Regions from separate parts of the Homo sapiens genome. Here region 1 is linked to region 2. The links are contacts of gene promoters, found by promoter capture Hi-C in blood cells and fetal thymus (Javierre and others, 2016). All regions are on one chromosome and are shown on one strand. The core of a region is centred on a gene start or on the middle of the fragment in contact, and the rest is flanking DNA. Distances in the headings are between cores, read along the strand shown.

Evidence for each region. Contacts are between HindIII fragments. The CHiCAGO score rates a contact against its expected background, and 5 or more counts as called.
Region 1: a contact is called between the fragment with the promoter of CERS1 here and a fragment that was not itself captured in region 2, in 1 of 17 cell types (monocytes). The highest score is 5.6, in monocytes.

Annotation. Positions count from the first base shown.
Region 1 is chr19:18,892,948-18,900,327 of GRCh38, reverse strand. CERS1 (ceramide synthase 1) reads left to right here and starts at 4,170. Exons shown (of 8, transcript NM_021267.5): 1 at 4,170-4,504; 2 at 6,753-6,912. The coding sequence starts at 4,256. GDF1 (growth differentiation factor 1) reads left to right here and starts at 4,170. Exons shown (of 8, transcript NM_001492.6): 1 at 4,170-4,504; 2 at 6,753-6,912. COPE (coat protein complex I subunit epsilon) reads left to right here. Exons shown (of 10, transcript NM_007263.4): 9 at 381-455; 10 at 602-814. The coding sequence ends at 649. RefSeq lists a silencer at 5,120-5,169. The HindIII fragment of the contact is 17,655 bases long and covers 1-7,380 here.
Region 2 is chr19:19,004,695-19,012,208 of GRCh38, reverse strand. It overlaps SUGP2 (SURP and G-patch domain containing 2), which reads left to right. Exons shown (of 11, transcript NM_001017392.5): 5 at 1,867-2,354; 6 at 3,781-3,892. Among named protein-coding and RNA genes, the nearest start is that of SUGP2, 25 kb to the left of the region's middle. The HindIII fragment of the contact is 6,346 bases long and covers 1-5,910 here.

The DNA.
Region 1 (7,380 bases), core at 2,921-5,420, 110 kb after region 2:
CAGCCTGGGGTCCAGGCCCTAATCCCTAGGCCCCTGGGAAAACTCTGTATACAGTATGCCTACCGCAGCCCACCTCCCTCACAAACCCTGTGCCCCCCAACCCATCCTCACCTGGGGCCCTGCCCGACCTGCTCCCCTGAACACCACAATACATCCCCCACCATGTACGGAGGCCAGCTCCATGCCAGCGCCTCTCCAGGGGGCAGGCCCATCCCTCCACCCCCACCCTGAAGGTTCTCCGAGATCAGCCCAGTCCCAAGGCAGGGTGAGGAGCCCCCTGGGGTACTGTGGCTCTCACCCCAATCCACCCCTGTCCAGCAGGTCAGAGCCACCGTGGGGTCCCCGTGTTCGGCTCACCTGCCTCCCTGCCTCCCCTGCAGGTGACAAACCGATACCTGTCCCAGCTGAAGGATGCCCACAGGTCCCATCCCTTCATCAAGGAGTACCAGGCCAAGGTGAGTGGTGGGGATGGCCTGTCCCCGAGAACCAGGCCAGGGGGCGCCTGGAGCTCAGCCTGGGCTCACATGCGCCCTCTCTCTCTCCCTCCACCTGTCTCCCCACACCCTGCCCCCACCCTGTGTTGCCATGTGTCTTGCTAAAGGAGAACGACTTTGACAGGCTGGTGCTACAGTACGCTCCCAGCGCCTGAGGCTGGCCCAGAGCTGTCAGGACCATGAAGCCAGGACAGAGGCCAGGAGCCAGCCCTGCAGCCCTCCCCACCCGGCATCCACCTGCATCCCCTCTGGGGGCAGGAGCCCACCCCCAGCACCCCCATCTGTTAATAAATATCTCAACTCCAGGGTGTTCCACCTGATGATGTGCTCTGGTCACTTTGCTGGGGGCGTGTGGGAGCTGACGCTCAGGGAGAGTCCTGGGGCACTGGCATCCAGGGCTGTTCCTGGAGACCAGGGTCTGTGACGAGCAGCAGGTGTGCAGACCCCCACCCCGCCCCTCACACAGCCACAACCTGCTCCTGCAGGCCAGAGGCAGCACAGCCCTGTCCCCATGCTTCACCCTGGCCCCTAGAGGCCACTGAGCAGCCCTGGTTGGCATCGGGGGAAACTGAGGCACAGAGAAGTCATGCCGCTATCATGAGGGGCACCAAGATTCAAAATGAGAACCCCTAGTGGCCTGGAGGAAGTGGGGGCCAGGGCAGGAAAAACTCAGGCCTCAGCTCAGCAAAGCCGGAGGGGCCCTGCAGGGTCAGCGTTAACCCCAGGTGCTGCTCCTGCCGCCCCGCAAACCCTCCTCCAAGGCAGAGTCCTGCTGTGGCAGGGTCCTGGGGCCAAGCACCCAGCCGCGATGAGAGGCGGCCGCACCATTTAGGGAGGGAGGTGGGTGGGTGGCAGCAGGGCTGGCCGGAGCCTCCCAGATGTCACCATTGAGCTGTGCCCACCCGAACAACAAAAAGGAGCTGCCAGGCTAGGTTCTAGGGGGACAGGCACCCTGGCAGTGGGCATGACCGGTGCAGAGGTCCCTCGGTGGCACAGGGCTGTGAGGTCAAGGGGCGCTGGATGGGGATGCATGCCCTTTGACCTCTGAGCCTGGCCTGGGCTTATCTCCCAGGGAAAAGATAAGACTGGGTTTCCCCAAGCCACACCCAGGCCTATTCATTTGAAACCAGACCCCGTCTCTGGTTGCCAGGGCAGGACAGCAAGCGACCCCCACCCCCAGCCTGGTAGGGGAGGGAAGTGGCAAAAGAGGACTCCCTGGACAGGGACATTAGGAGGGGTCCAGGCCGAGCTTTCTGGAGGGAGGAGACCTTGGGGTGGGTGGGGGGACACTGGCCTCAAGACTGACCTCCGCCCAGCCTTGGGTGCCTGGTCCCCAGCTGCCAGTAGAGCCGCCTTCCATTCCTGCCCTGCACCCACCCGTTGGCAGCCTCCTGGCTGGACCCGCCAAAAAGAAATTCGAGGCTGAGCTGGGGCTAGTGGGTGGGTGGGTGGCGCCTCTCCCGTGACCGATGGGCGCCATGGTGACCAGATAGTGCTGGCCGAGAGGGTGGAGGGAGGTGGCTGGGACTGTCCACGGCTGCCCCACAGGCCTGGCTGGACCTTTGAGAGCATATCCCCCTCGTCCCCCTCTGCCTGCCAGGCAGGTTGTGGCGTTAGTCACATCTCTGGCCTCCGGCTGGACCTGAACTATTGGCCAGGCCAAGCCTCGTGCCCCACCCCTACACTAGGCCCCTAGTCCACATGGAGTCCACGTTCAAGAATAAAGAGTGGGGCCAGGCACGGTGGCTCATGCCTGTAATCCCAGCACTTTGGGAGGCCAAGACAGGCAGATCACTTGAGGTCAGGAGTTCGAGACCAGCCCGGCCAATATGGCAAAACCCTGTCTCTACAGAAAATACAAAGATTAGCTGGGTGTGATAGCAGGCGCCTGTAATCCCAGCTACTCGGGAGACTGAGGCAGGAGAATCCCTTGAACCTGGGAGGCGGAGGTTGCGGTCAGCTGAGATTGCGCCACTGCACTCCAGTCTGGGCAACGGAGCAAGACTCCAACTCAAAAAAAAAAATGAGCTGTATGTATGTAGGGGCAGATGGTGACAAGTGCCAAGCAGACATGAAGACATGAGGGGCGTGTGACTTCAGAGTCGGGGGCAGCCTGAGCAGGTGGCAGAAGAGCCATGCAGGTACCTAGGGGAACAGCATTTCAGGAGGGGGGAACAGCTAGTGCAAAGGCCCTGAGGCAGGACAGAGCTTGGCATGTTGGAAGAACAGCAGAAAAGCCCACAGGCGGAGGGAAACAGGGCGCTGTGAGGGCAGCCAGTGAGGACTTGGGCTTTCCCTGAGTGGAACAGGAGCCATAGAGGGCTGCAAGCAGACGAGGAACAGGCCAACAGCGTCGCAGCCACCTTCTCACCTCTGTGGGGTGAGGAGGAAGCCAGGATACCAGACGGAAGAGGGTAGTGGTGGTAGTGGTGGTGGTGGCGGGGAGCGGGGGGCAAGGCTGTGCAGATGCAGAGAAGTGGCCAGATGCAGGGCCACCTGGATGTGTTGTGGGGGACTCGGTGTGGGGCAAGGGGAAGGTGTGTTCACCTGTGCCCCTGAAGTTCAGGTGCAGGTGTTCGGGAGCCAGCGCGGCTGCTGCAGGACTCATCCCTGCATCCTGCACCTTGAAGGCCAGGTGTGGGGACATCCTGCGGGCTAGGATGGAGGGGGGGTGCAGCAGTGCCTGGGGAGATGGCGGTCCTAACAGAGGTGACCAGTGTCTTCCTCGATGGCCTTCAGTGGCTTTGGGCACAGGGCCTTGTCAATGAACAGTGCATTGGAAAGTCACTTATGGTGGTCCCAATGATGTCACAGTCGATCCAGATTGGGAGTCCCTCCCACGTTGGCACCCACTCCTGCAGCCTCTCTGCAACTCATGTATTAACCTGATGTTGGGGAGCCCCCCCCCCGGGTTCCCCAGGGTCACAGCAGCAAGTGACCCTCAGAGAACCCCCTAATCTCAGCAGCCCCCATCACACCTTTGTCCCAGTAGCCCGCTGTGCAGACCTGCAGAAGAAGATGCCTGGGAAGTGCCCAGGGTACCCGCGTCCAAGCTGGAACCCCATTGCCAAGCTCCTGGTGTAGGGCAGAGAGCTGCGTCTCCACTAGGTGCGCCTCCCAACGCCCTGGCGTGGGCCGTGTCCTTTTGAAGAATGAGAATGTTTCATTGAGCCTACGCCTCCTGAATGCGGGAGGGCCACGGGATGGTCCCAAGACTGTGCCAAGGCGTGCCAGGCCTCGGGTCCTTGAGAAGGAGCGAGGGCTCCAAGAACGGTGAGGTCGGAGCGGGCCGGGGCGATGGAGCGGGAGCGGCGTGGCGTGCTGGAGGGCCGGGAGAAGCGGGGGTCGCCAGTCGAGGGGACTGCCTGCTAGTGTCCCCCGTGCCCCCCGTCACGGGCACGGCGCGGTGGGGTGGGGGAGCGGGGGGCGCGCGGGGCAGGCATGGGGGCGCGACACGGCGGTGCGCGGGGTCTCTCGGGGTCCAGGTCCAACGGGCCCCCAGCTCCGGCCCCCGCGCCTGGGTTTCTCTGCTGGGAAACGGGCAGGGGCGCGGGCCCGCCTCCAGGGCGCCCCGCGTCCCCGCTGGCCGCCCCCCAGCCGCGCCCCCAGCGGGGCGGAGCTTGCGCCGGTCCCGCCCCTCCGCCCTCCGCTCTCCCGCCCGCGCGCCCCCGGCCCAGCTGCGGCGCGTGACGCGGGGCGCGCGGCTCCGTCGGCTACCGCGGGCGGGCGCAGGCGACGGGCACGGCGGGCGAGCGGGCGGTATGGCGGCGGCGGGGCCCGCGGCGGGGCCGACGGGGCCCGAGCCCATGCCGAGCTACGCGCAGCTAGTGCAGCGCGGCTGGGGCAGCGCGCTGGCGGCGGCGCGGGGCTGCACGGACTGCGGCTGGGGGCTGGCGCGTCGCGGCCTGGCTGAGCACGCGCACCTGGCGCCGCCCGAGCTGCTGCTGCTGGCGCTCGGCGCGCTGGGCTGGACCGCCCTGCGCTCCGCGGCCACTGCGCGCCTCTTTCGGGTCAGTGTGGCCGGGGGCCGGGACGAGGGGACCCCGGACTGGGGGAAGCCGGGACCGGGGACCTGGGGCCGCCGGCGCGTTCCTTTCTTCCAGCGCTGGCTGCTGCGGATGAAGGGGTCGCCGGAACGTGGGTGGGGGCCTCGGGCTGGAGAGGCCCAGGACGTTGGAGCCCCAGGATAAGGTCTCTCGGGCCGCCGCGCGCCCCCTTCAGACAGTGCTGCGTGGGGGAACCGGGTAGATGCGGGGGTGTGGCCGGGCTGGGGTGAGTCTGGGACATGGGGGGCCCGAGACAGGTGGGATGTTTGAGACGTGGGGGACCGAGGCACGGCCCTTTCCGGTCAGTTTGGGACCAGGGGGCCCCGCGCGGTGGATGGCTCCGGCCACCGCGCGCTCTTTCCGGCAGGGCCGAGCCAGACACTGAGAAGCCCAGGACCGGGAACGGGAGGGCTCGGCGCACCGCGGCCTGCGCCATGCGCCTCCCTGCCATGCGGGCTGCGCCCCGGCCCGGAGCGAGGTCCGCTGCCCGTTTTCTGCTGGGTCCGTGCGGCGGCGGGGCCGGCTTGCCCGCTGTAATCGGGAAGAGGCAGGAGCTGCCCGGTCGCTGCCTTGTGCCTATCTGGGGTCAGCGCCACCCTCCGACCAGGGATGGCAAGGGCCTGGGTGCTCTGGCCACGCCAGTGGTCGCTCCCTTGGAGGTGACATGGCCCGGGGCTTCAGGGTTGGACTGTGCTGCCTCCAAGAGGCGACAGCAGAATTCCCCAGTTTCTGCGGAGACCATCGCCCCTGCGAGAGAGTGACCATGATGGTGACATTGGCGCCTGACCCCACTCACTTCCCTGGGGAGGGGTCGCTGTGGCAGGAGCTGGTTGGAAGGTGTTTGGGCCTTTAGCTTGGCCTGGACACCCCCGTGGACCAGCTGGTGTCACCCCGCCCGTCTGGCTGGAGGGTGCAGGGACAATGTGCCCAGCGCCAACAAAGGGGCCTTTCTCTGCTGGCCGGGAAGAGGCTGGCCCTTGTGAGGTCGATGATGGGATGTTGTCTGACTGCCACTCTCCCCACTCCCGTCCCCATATCACCCACATGAGGGAGAGACCCCAGCCACACCCCTACTGTGGGAGGGGGAGACAGGGCTGTCCAGGGCCCCTCCCTGGGTCCGCAGTGGTCTTTATCCTGCTTGTTGCCCCTGCCTTCTTCCCAGTTTCCAGCTGGGAAGCCCGAGACCCAGGAGGGCAAGCCGTCCCCCACCCCTGCGGGACAGGAGGATGTGGCGGCTGGTAGACTACCAGGGCCGAGCCCCGGGGGCCCTCCCCAGCCCCTTGGGTGGGGTGCTCGCCCCATTTCGAGGCTCGCCCTTCCTCAGAAATGGGTGGAGGGGCTGCCGGGTGTTCCAAAGCTGATCTTCTTGGCAGCAGCCTGGTTGCCAGGGGTTACCGGAGCCGGCTCCAGCTGTCTCCATGACAACTGCTGGGTGCTCTGGGCTCCGGCCCCCTCAGCCTCTGGGAAGGGGGTGGGACTTGTCCAGGGGTGGGGCTTGGCCGGGCAGCTCTGGAGCCGCGCCCCGCCACCCACCCACCCACCGCACTCCCCAACCCCTGCCTTGGAGCCAGCAGCTTCCTCTGCACTCCCAATGTCCCCTCAGGGTCTCACCTCGCCTGTGACACCTTTTCCGCCTCCTGTCCCCTTTTTCTGCCTCCAGCCCCTCCTCCCCTTTCATCGCCCCCAGGTTCCCATGTCCCCGCCACACCTTCCCCCTAGTCTCTCCCAGCCCTCTAGCCTCTCCAGAATCTCCCACTGAGGGGGCGGCTTCCTCACAAGTTCTTCCTCTCCCCTCTGTGTCGGTCCCATGGGGCTCTCTGTGTTTCCCAAGATGCCCCCATATAACCCCCTCCATGTTCCCTTCAAGGGTCACCCCCACCAGCCCAACTCCCTTGGGCTGACGCATCCATCCGTCTCCCTCATCGTAAGCCCAAGTGTCCCCCTTCTGGCCCCCAGAGCCCTCCTGCTCCCCTCGGGGCCTCCCCCCTCACTCCCCTCCCAGCACCGCGGCGGCCGGACAGCTGGGCACTAAGTTTAGCCTTGGCAGGCGCCTGTGGGCTCTGTTTATGCTCCAGGTGGCTGTGGGCATGGGGGACAGGCCTTCCCAGTGCTGCCCGGCCTGGGGAGTCCCTGGGCCTCAGTTTCCCCACCCCAAAGGAGCAGTCTCTGGCCCCCAGCACCAATGGCTGCCCGCCTGTCTTCTCCCCCATAGCCCCTGGCGAAGCGGTGCTGCCTCCAGCCCAGAGATGCCGCCAAGATGCCCGAGAGCGCTTGGAAGTTTCTCTTCTACCTGGGCAGCTGGAGCTACAGTGCCTACCTGCTGTTTGGCACCGACTACCCCTTCTTCCATGACCCACCATCTGTCTTCTACGGTAGGGGCCCTGAGGGGATGGCCGGGAGGGCTCTGCTTAAAACACAAAGACGCCAGGCTTGTGGTCCCAGCTACTCATGAGGCAGAAGCAGGAGGATCACTGGAGCCCAGGAGTTGGAGGCCAAGGGGAGCTATGAGCACGCCACTGCACTCCAGCCTGGACGACAGAGTGAGACCCTGTCTTGTATCAAAAAAGAAAAAGAGGGCCAGGCGCAGTGGCTCACGCCTGTAATCCCAGCACTTTGGGAGGCCAAGGTGAGTGGATCACGAGGTTAGGAGATCGAGACCATCCTGGCTAACATGGTGAAACCCCGTCTCTACTAAAAATACAAAAAATTAGCCGGGTGTGGTGGGCGCCTGTAATCCCAGCTACTCGGGAGGCTGAGGCAGGAGAATCGCTTGAACCTGGGAGGCAGAGGTTGCAGTGAGCCGAGTTCGCGCCACTGCACTCCAGCCTGGGCAACAGAGC
Region 2 (7,514 bases), core at 1,488-3,987:
GTTAGCCCAACAGAGTGCCAGGGCAGCAGTGGAGCCGGTACTCAGTCGTTTTGTCAGGTCCAGACAGACCTCAACTGGCTAACAGTGTCAGCAGGAGCTTGTGTATGGAGCTGCCTGCCAGGGACATGCCACATCACACAGTGCTGCCAATGCTGTGCAACACACAGCCACCTTACTTCTAGTTGGCTTGTCACTGGTAATCTGGAACCTCATCTAATAACTGATATGTCGCTACTTAATATCAAACAATCTGAAAGCCACCTGAAATACTGCCATACTTACTAAGCAATATTCTTCTTTAACACAAACTGAAATCAAATATTCACAAAAGTCTGTTATGTTTGTTGTGGGGTGGTTATTTATTTATTTATTTTTAAAGAGATGGGGTTTCGCCATGTTGCCCAGACTGGTCTTGAACTCCTGGGCTCAAGCGACCCACCTGCTTCCGCCTCCCAAAGTGCTGGGATTACAGGCGTGAGCCACCACGCCCATCTTAAAAGTTCGTTATGTATGAAATCACAGAGAAAATCACAGCACACCCAGGAAATTCACGTGGGCCACATTATGCCAATACAGCAAACTAGAAACCAGCAACAACCAAAATAAAACATGTTTCTGAATAACTTTTGAGTGAAGGGTAATCATAGCTGAAATTAGAAGCAATTTAGAAGGAAGTGGCAAGAAGAACATTATATACCAGATGCAGTCATAAAAATACTTAAGAGAAAGAGTGACTTCAGGTGACTTTATTAGAAATAGTGGGCCAGGTGCAGTGGCTCACACCTGTAATCCCAGCACTTTGAGAGGCTGAGGCGTATGGCTACCTTGAGCCCAAGAGTTTGAGATCAGCCTAGGCAACATGGTGAAATGTCCTCTCAACCAAAAACACAAAAATTAGCCAGGCGTGGTGGTGCGCGCCTGTAGTCCCAGCTACTGGGGAGGCTGAGGTGGGAGGATCACCTGAACCCAGAAGGTCGAGGCTGCGGTGAGCTGTAATCAACTCATGAAGCTAGAAGGAAAATGATGAAAAAAGTAAAGACACTAGAAGGAGAAGGTTTTTTTTTTTTTTAAAGATAGGGTCTTGCTCTGTTGCCCAGACTGGAGTGCAGTGGTGCAATCACAGCTCACCACAGCCTCTCGACTTCCTGGGCTCAAGTGATCCTCCCACCTTAGCCTCCAGAGTAGCTGGGACTATAGGCATGCACCACCACCCTGGCTAATTTTTTTATTTTGTGGAAATGGGATCTTGTTTTGTTGCCCAGGCTGGTCTTGAACTCCTGGGCTCAAGCAATCCTCCCGCCTCAGCCTCTCAAAGTGCTGGGATTACAGGTGTGAGCCACCACGCCCAGCTGAATATTTTTCTGTTAGTACATGTAGCTCAACCTTCTCTTTACTGTTCTCATCATGATGACTGGGTCATAAGATTTCACACCTGGGCCGCAGGCTCCTTGGTTAATGTTCTCTTGTGGTTCACATCACACTTTCCTTGATGCAGTCAAAAGCTCACCGAGCACTCATCCTGGCTGGGCCATTTAAAAGGTGTCAATTCTGCCTGCCAGGGTGCTATGGCTCCAAGGTGACTGGTTTGTGTTTCCAGGCCATCAAGAGCTGGGAGCTCCCTCACGGCTGCTGCTGATGGAAATCAAGGAGGAACTCAGTTCAAACTCCCGATTGCCCTGTGGTCACTCTTAGCAGGGCAGCTGTCTTGGGCCTAGCTCTGGGTCCTCAGTAGAGCCAGGCAGAGCCTCTGAGACAGGAGAGGACAGTGAGGAGTTGGCCACTTAGAAAGGGTTTGTGTTTGAAGGAACAATTTGGGACCTGGTGGTGTTTTCATAAATGTCCCGTTATGCTTGTTTTGTTATCTAGGTTTTTGTCTGATGAAAATAGTCTGGAGTATAAATATTACAAGCTGAAGTTGGCAGAAATGCAGCGGATGAGCGAGAACTTGCGAGGAGCCGACCAGAAGCCGACCTCAGCAGACTGTGCAGTGAGGGCCATGCTGTACTCCCGGGCTGTCCGCAACCTCAAGAAGAAACTCCTTCCGTGGCAGCGGCGGGGGCTCCTCCGTGCTCAAGGGCTCCGGGGCTGGAAGGCGAGGAGAGCGACCACCGGGACCCAGACCCTCCTATCCTCAGGCACCAGGCTGAAACACCACGGCCGGCAGGCTCCAGGCCTCTCACAGGCAAAACCATCCCTGCCAGACAGAAATGATGCTGCCAAGGACTGCCCGCCAGACCCAGTTGGACCTTCTCCTCAGGACCCCAGCTTAGAAGCCTCAGGCCCATCCCCCAAGCCAGCAGGAGTGGACATCTCTGAAGCACCTCAGACCTCTTCTCCCTGCCCATCTGCTGACAGTGGGTGCTCACTCCTGTCCCCCTCCTCTGGGCCCCAGTCCCTACTCTCCCATCTCCAGGGTCTCTTTAGAATTGGGGGGGCCTGCAATCTAGGCAAGGCAGTGGATAAAAGCTCTAGGGACCTGGCCAGGACAAGTGTACATGTTGGCGCTTTCTCTCTTGCTTTCTTGAGAGAGCTGCATGCGAGTCCTGCAGCTCCCTCCTCCTCTTCTGAGAGCGGAGCTGGTATGAGGTGCTGCCCCATGCCTTCGTGCTCCCCGACAGGGTCCTGCTGCTGGGGCCGTGGGCGGTGCATTGCCTGAACTTGGGATCCCATGTCCTGCTATATCCTGGCCTCCCTTGATAGTCTTCGGGACTGCCTTGTTCTCATTGCGCCTCCTCATCCCCAGGGTCTCCACAGTTCCTGTTCTTGGGGTTCGCTGACCTGCACTGCTTCCTCCGAATCGACTAACTTCACCCCTTCTGTTTCTTCTGTCACCTTAGCTGTTTCTTTCTCTCTGTACCACAGGCCTGCTCTCTGGCCAGTGCTTCCTAAGCACTAAGTGGGAAGGAGAGAGCAAAAAAGTGTCCACAACTGCTGCATTATTTAGGTGTTGCTGTGTCGTGAGCCGTTCCAAACTGTGGCTTAAAACAGGAGGCATCAGCTGGGCGTGGTGGCTCACACTTGTAATCCCAGCACTTTGGGAGGCCAAGGCGGGTGGATTGCCTGAGCTCAGGAGTTCGCAACCAGCCTGGGCAACATGGTGAAACCCGATCTCTACTAAAAATACAAAAAATTAGCTGGGCGTGGTGGCACATGCCTGTAGTCCCAGCTACTCGGGAGGCTGAGCTAGGAGAATCGCTTGAACCCGGGAGGCGGAGGTTGCATTGAGCCAAGATCTCACCACTGCACTCCAGCCTGGGCGACAGAGCAAGACTCCATCTCAAAAAAAAACCAAACAAACCAACCAGGAGGCGTCCGGTATTGTGAATTTGCCAGTGGCTGGGTCATCTGCTGAGCTAGCCCACACATGTCTGCGGTCAGTGGCAGGTGTCCAGGCTGTCAGCTGAGATGATGGTGTGGCTGGGCCACATGCCTGTCATCCCCCCAGCAGCCAGCCCATGTTTGTTCACCTGGCAATTGGGGTTGGGGCTTCAGGAGAGACAGTGGAAGTACTCAAGTCCTCCAAGGCCCAGGCTTGGAACTGGCAATGGGCTTTTCCACCACATTCTATAGCTGATGTGAGTCCCAGGACCAGCCCTGATTCAAGGTGGGGATACACAGAGTTCACTTCTTGGTGACAAAGGGTCCACATGTGACGAAGGGCAAGGCTACAGGGAGGGGACATGCAGGCCATCTTTATAATCAGCCTCCACAACCCTGCAGTGTTTACACGGGGAGCAGCAGCTCAGGAGTCATGCCTGACAGGTGCTTTATGTTTTGTAGTTGACATGAAGACAATGGAGACTGCAGAGAAACTGGCTAGATTTGTTGCTCAGGTGGGACCAGAGATCGAACAATTCAGCATAGAAAACAGCACCGATAACCCTGACCTGTGGTACGTACCCCCCCGGGTCTCATCACACCTTTTTCTTTCTCAGAGAGACAAAGTCTAAGGATGTTGCTTAGGCTGGATTTGAATTCCTGGGCTCAAGTGATCCTCCTGTTTCAGCCTCCAGAGTAGCTGGGACCACAGGTGTGCTCCACTGCAACTGGCCATTACACCCTTTAGATTTGAGTGTGTTCACGCCACAAGCATGTCCTGAGCCAGCCCACAGCCTGGCCAATGCATTCCTACTATGGGGGTTATACCAGGAGTAAGTCATGACTTCACTTCAGCTGAGCCAGGGGCCTAAGGGAGAAAGATCTGTTCTAATCACCCGAGTTCAGGAGTTCGAGACCAGCCTGGCCACCATGCTAAAACCCCATCTCTACAAAAATACAAAAATTAGCCGGGCATGGTGGCAAGCACCTGTAATCCCAGCTGCTTGGGAGGCTGAGGCATGAGAATCGCTTAAACCCGGGAGGCGGAGGTTTCAGTGAGCTGAGATTGAGCCACTGCATTCCAGCCTGGGCAACAGAGCGAGACTTCATCTCCAAAAAAAAAAAAAAAAAAAAAGGCTAGGTGCAATGGCTCATGCTTGTAATCCCCGCACTTTGGGAGGCTGAGGCGGGTGGATCATGAGGTCAGGCATTTGAGACCAGCCTTGCCAACATAGTGAAACCCCGTCTCTATACTAAAAATAAAAAAAATTAGCCGGGTGTAGTGGCAGGTGCCTGTAATCCCAGCTACTCGGGGGAGGCTGAGGCAGGAGAATTGCTTGAACCTGGGAGGCGGAGGTTGCAGTGAGCCGAGATCGCGCCATTGCACTCCAGCCTGGGCAACAAGAGTGAAACTCCATCTCAAAAAAAAAAAATCTGTTCTAGGGGACCTGCCTTCATCTCGGGCATCAGGAAAAACCTCCCCAGAGGGACATTTAATCTGCATCCAAAGGCTAAATAGGAGTTGGCCAGGGGAGGGGAGAGAGGTGAGGATTTGCTGCTCACTGCATGATAGTAGTGATAGTCAGCCCTTGCCCAGGTCTGACAGCAGGCACTTCTACACAGGGATAAGGTGGCGTGCTCATGCTGGGAGCAGGTACCTTTGCCCTCTCCATTCCTTGGATAGGTGGAGCTCAGCTCAAAAGCACACAGCCCATAGGCAAGAAAACCTGGGTGAGGAGCCAGCACTGCCCCTGGGGTTTTTCCCCGGGGTGACATGAGATGTCCCCTCCAGAGAAAGGCTGCCGGTAGGAGGCACCCATCTTCCCATTACTGAGCCAGAACCCTACTGAGGGGGCTCTCAACTCCTCGTGCTGGTCCTAGCTTGTTGGACAGTCATGCCTTCATCCAGTTAAAATTACAGTTGAAAACGTGCATTTCTCAGAGCATTTATGGGATTCAGTGGTGACAGAACATACTCTTTCAACTTGCTTGGGACCTGATTGCACAAGCCAAGCCCTACTCCCCTCCGCAGCCTTGGCTTATGACTGGGTCCTGCACTAAGGTACCACCTGCCTTGTGGGGCACTGACCACCTACAGACGGGAAGCCTGACCAGGCTTACAGTCAGGTTTTGCCTTTTACAGGCAGTAGTGGCCTTGGGGAGCTGCTGGGCCCTGTAGACCTCGGGGTCGGACCTGTCCACTGTGTATGTGGGATTTCCTCTGGCAGGGTTGGATAAGGAGGACAGCTCAGTGCAGGGCAGCTGGGGGCATCCCATGAGTCCTTTTTTCTTTTTCACTTTCTTTTTTTTCAATGAAAAGTACAGTTTAAAGGAGAATTTTGCATTAGCCTGGGTACTTGGGCTGTAGTACTTGTTGGGTTTTGGGTGATTCCTCCCCATCTGTGACAGCCTTTTCTGAGCAGTGTCCTTCAGAGTACTCTGTCCTGTCCTTCCCTGGAAGGAGAGCCCTGGATCCTGACCACAATACTGGGCAAGGTGTTGGACGCTATCCAGCCATGCTTGTAAATGGGCCAAGATGACTTTGTGTTTCTTTTGCCTTTAGAAAAAATTTAATTCTAATGTGCTCAAGCTTATTGAGTTAATTCATTTTGTGGGTGTGGTTATGTTATAAAGTTGTCATACAATCCGTTTTATTTATTTATTTATTTTTGAGACGGAATTTCACTCTGTCGCCCAAGCTGGAGTGCAGTGGTGTGATCTCAGCTCACTGCAACCTCCGCCTCTCGGGTTCAAGCGATTCTCCTGCCTCAGATTCCCAAGTAGCTGGGATTACAGGTGTCACCCAGCTAATTTTTGTATTTTTAGTAGAGACGGGGTTTCACCATGTTGGCCAGGCTAGTCTTGGATTCCTGACCTCAGGTGATCTGCCTGCCTCAGCCTCCCAAAATGTGCTGGGAGGCATGAGCCACCATGCCCGGCCCAGATTCATTTGTTTCTGCTGATATTTAGTTGTATGTGTGTGTGGTGTGTGTGTGTGGTGTGTGTGTGTGTGTGTGTGTGTGTGTGTGTGTGTGTGTGTGTGTGTTTGTTAGCCTGGTATAGTGGCATTTGCCTGTGGTCCTAACTACTTGGGTGGCTGATGTAGGAAGATTTCTTGAGCCCAGGAGTTTGAGGCTGCAGTGAGCTGTGATCACACCACTGCACTCTAGCCTGGACGACAGAGTGAGACCCCATCTCTAAAAATGTGTAATAATAATTATAAAGCCGTCCAGCTTTTCCAATACCATTCTTTGAAAGACCCACCCCTTTTTTGTAGTAGTTTGAGAGGTTACCTTAATCAAATGCTGGGTTTCTGGTCTTTCTATTCTGTTCCTTTGGTCTGCCTTATGGACTACTATGCTGTTTAACTCTAGAGGCTTTGGGGCATTTTATAGTGCTTGGTGGGGCTGGAACCCCTTATGAGTCTTGTTCAGAGTTTTCCCAGATACTCTTACATATTATTTTTCTTTATGAACTTTAGAACCATCTTGCCCTGATTCAGAATGGGATTTTATTGGGATATATTAATATGCTAACTGGGGGGACTTGGCACATTTATGAGGTTGAGTTGCCTTACGAGGGCCATTTTTCCTTTGGTCCAAGTGGACTTTGGTGCTTTCGGGAGTGTTTCAAGTTTCTCATACCAGCCACAGCTTCATAGCTGTGGTTACAAGTCGAGGTGGCCACCAGACCCCTGAGGCACAGAGAGGCCTCATCTCCACGCCCATGTAGGTGGACTGCAGGCCCCAGAGCGGGAAGTGCTAGGGGTGAGGAGCCTCCTCGGGGGGCACCTTACGGTTCCATGGTGCACATGTTCCAGCAGTAACTGTGCAGCTCCTCCTGGCATCGCTCCATGCTTCTCATACCTGGGAGGAACCAGAGTCAAAATGGGCACATGGAGGCCCAGAGAGGCCAGTGATGTAACCAGAAAGGGTGAGATGGGTCTCAAGCCAGATCTCTATTCCAGCATTTTCCCAAGCCCTGCATACCTTGTTCGTCCGCCTCTGTCCCCTGGAAAGCAGTTAGGCTTCTTGAATTCTAGCTCCTTATTAAGTTACTAGTACTCCTCAAATTTTCTATCATTGAGAGGCTGCACCATCAAGCCATAGCCGCGTAGAGACTGGTCAGGTTATTCTTTCCCTTGTCCCACCTCCACCTTCCTTGGATCAATCCCAGCAGTTTCAGCAAATAAAAAT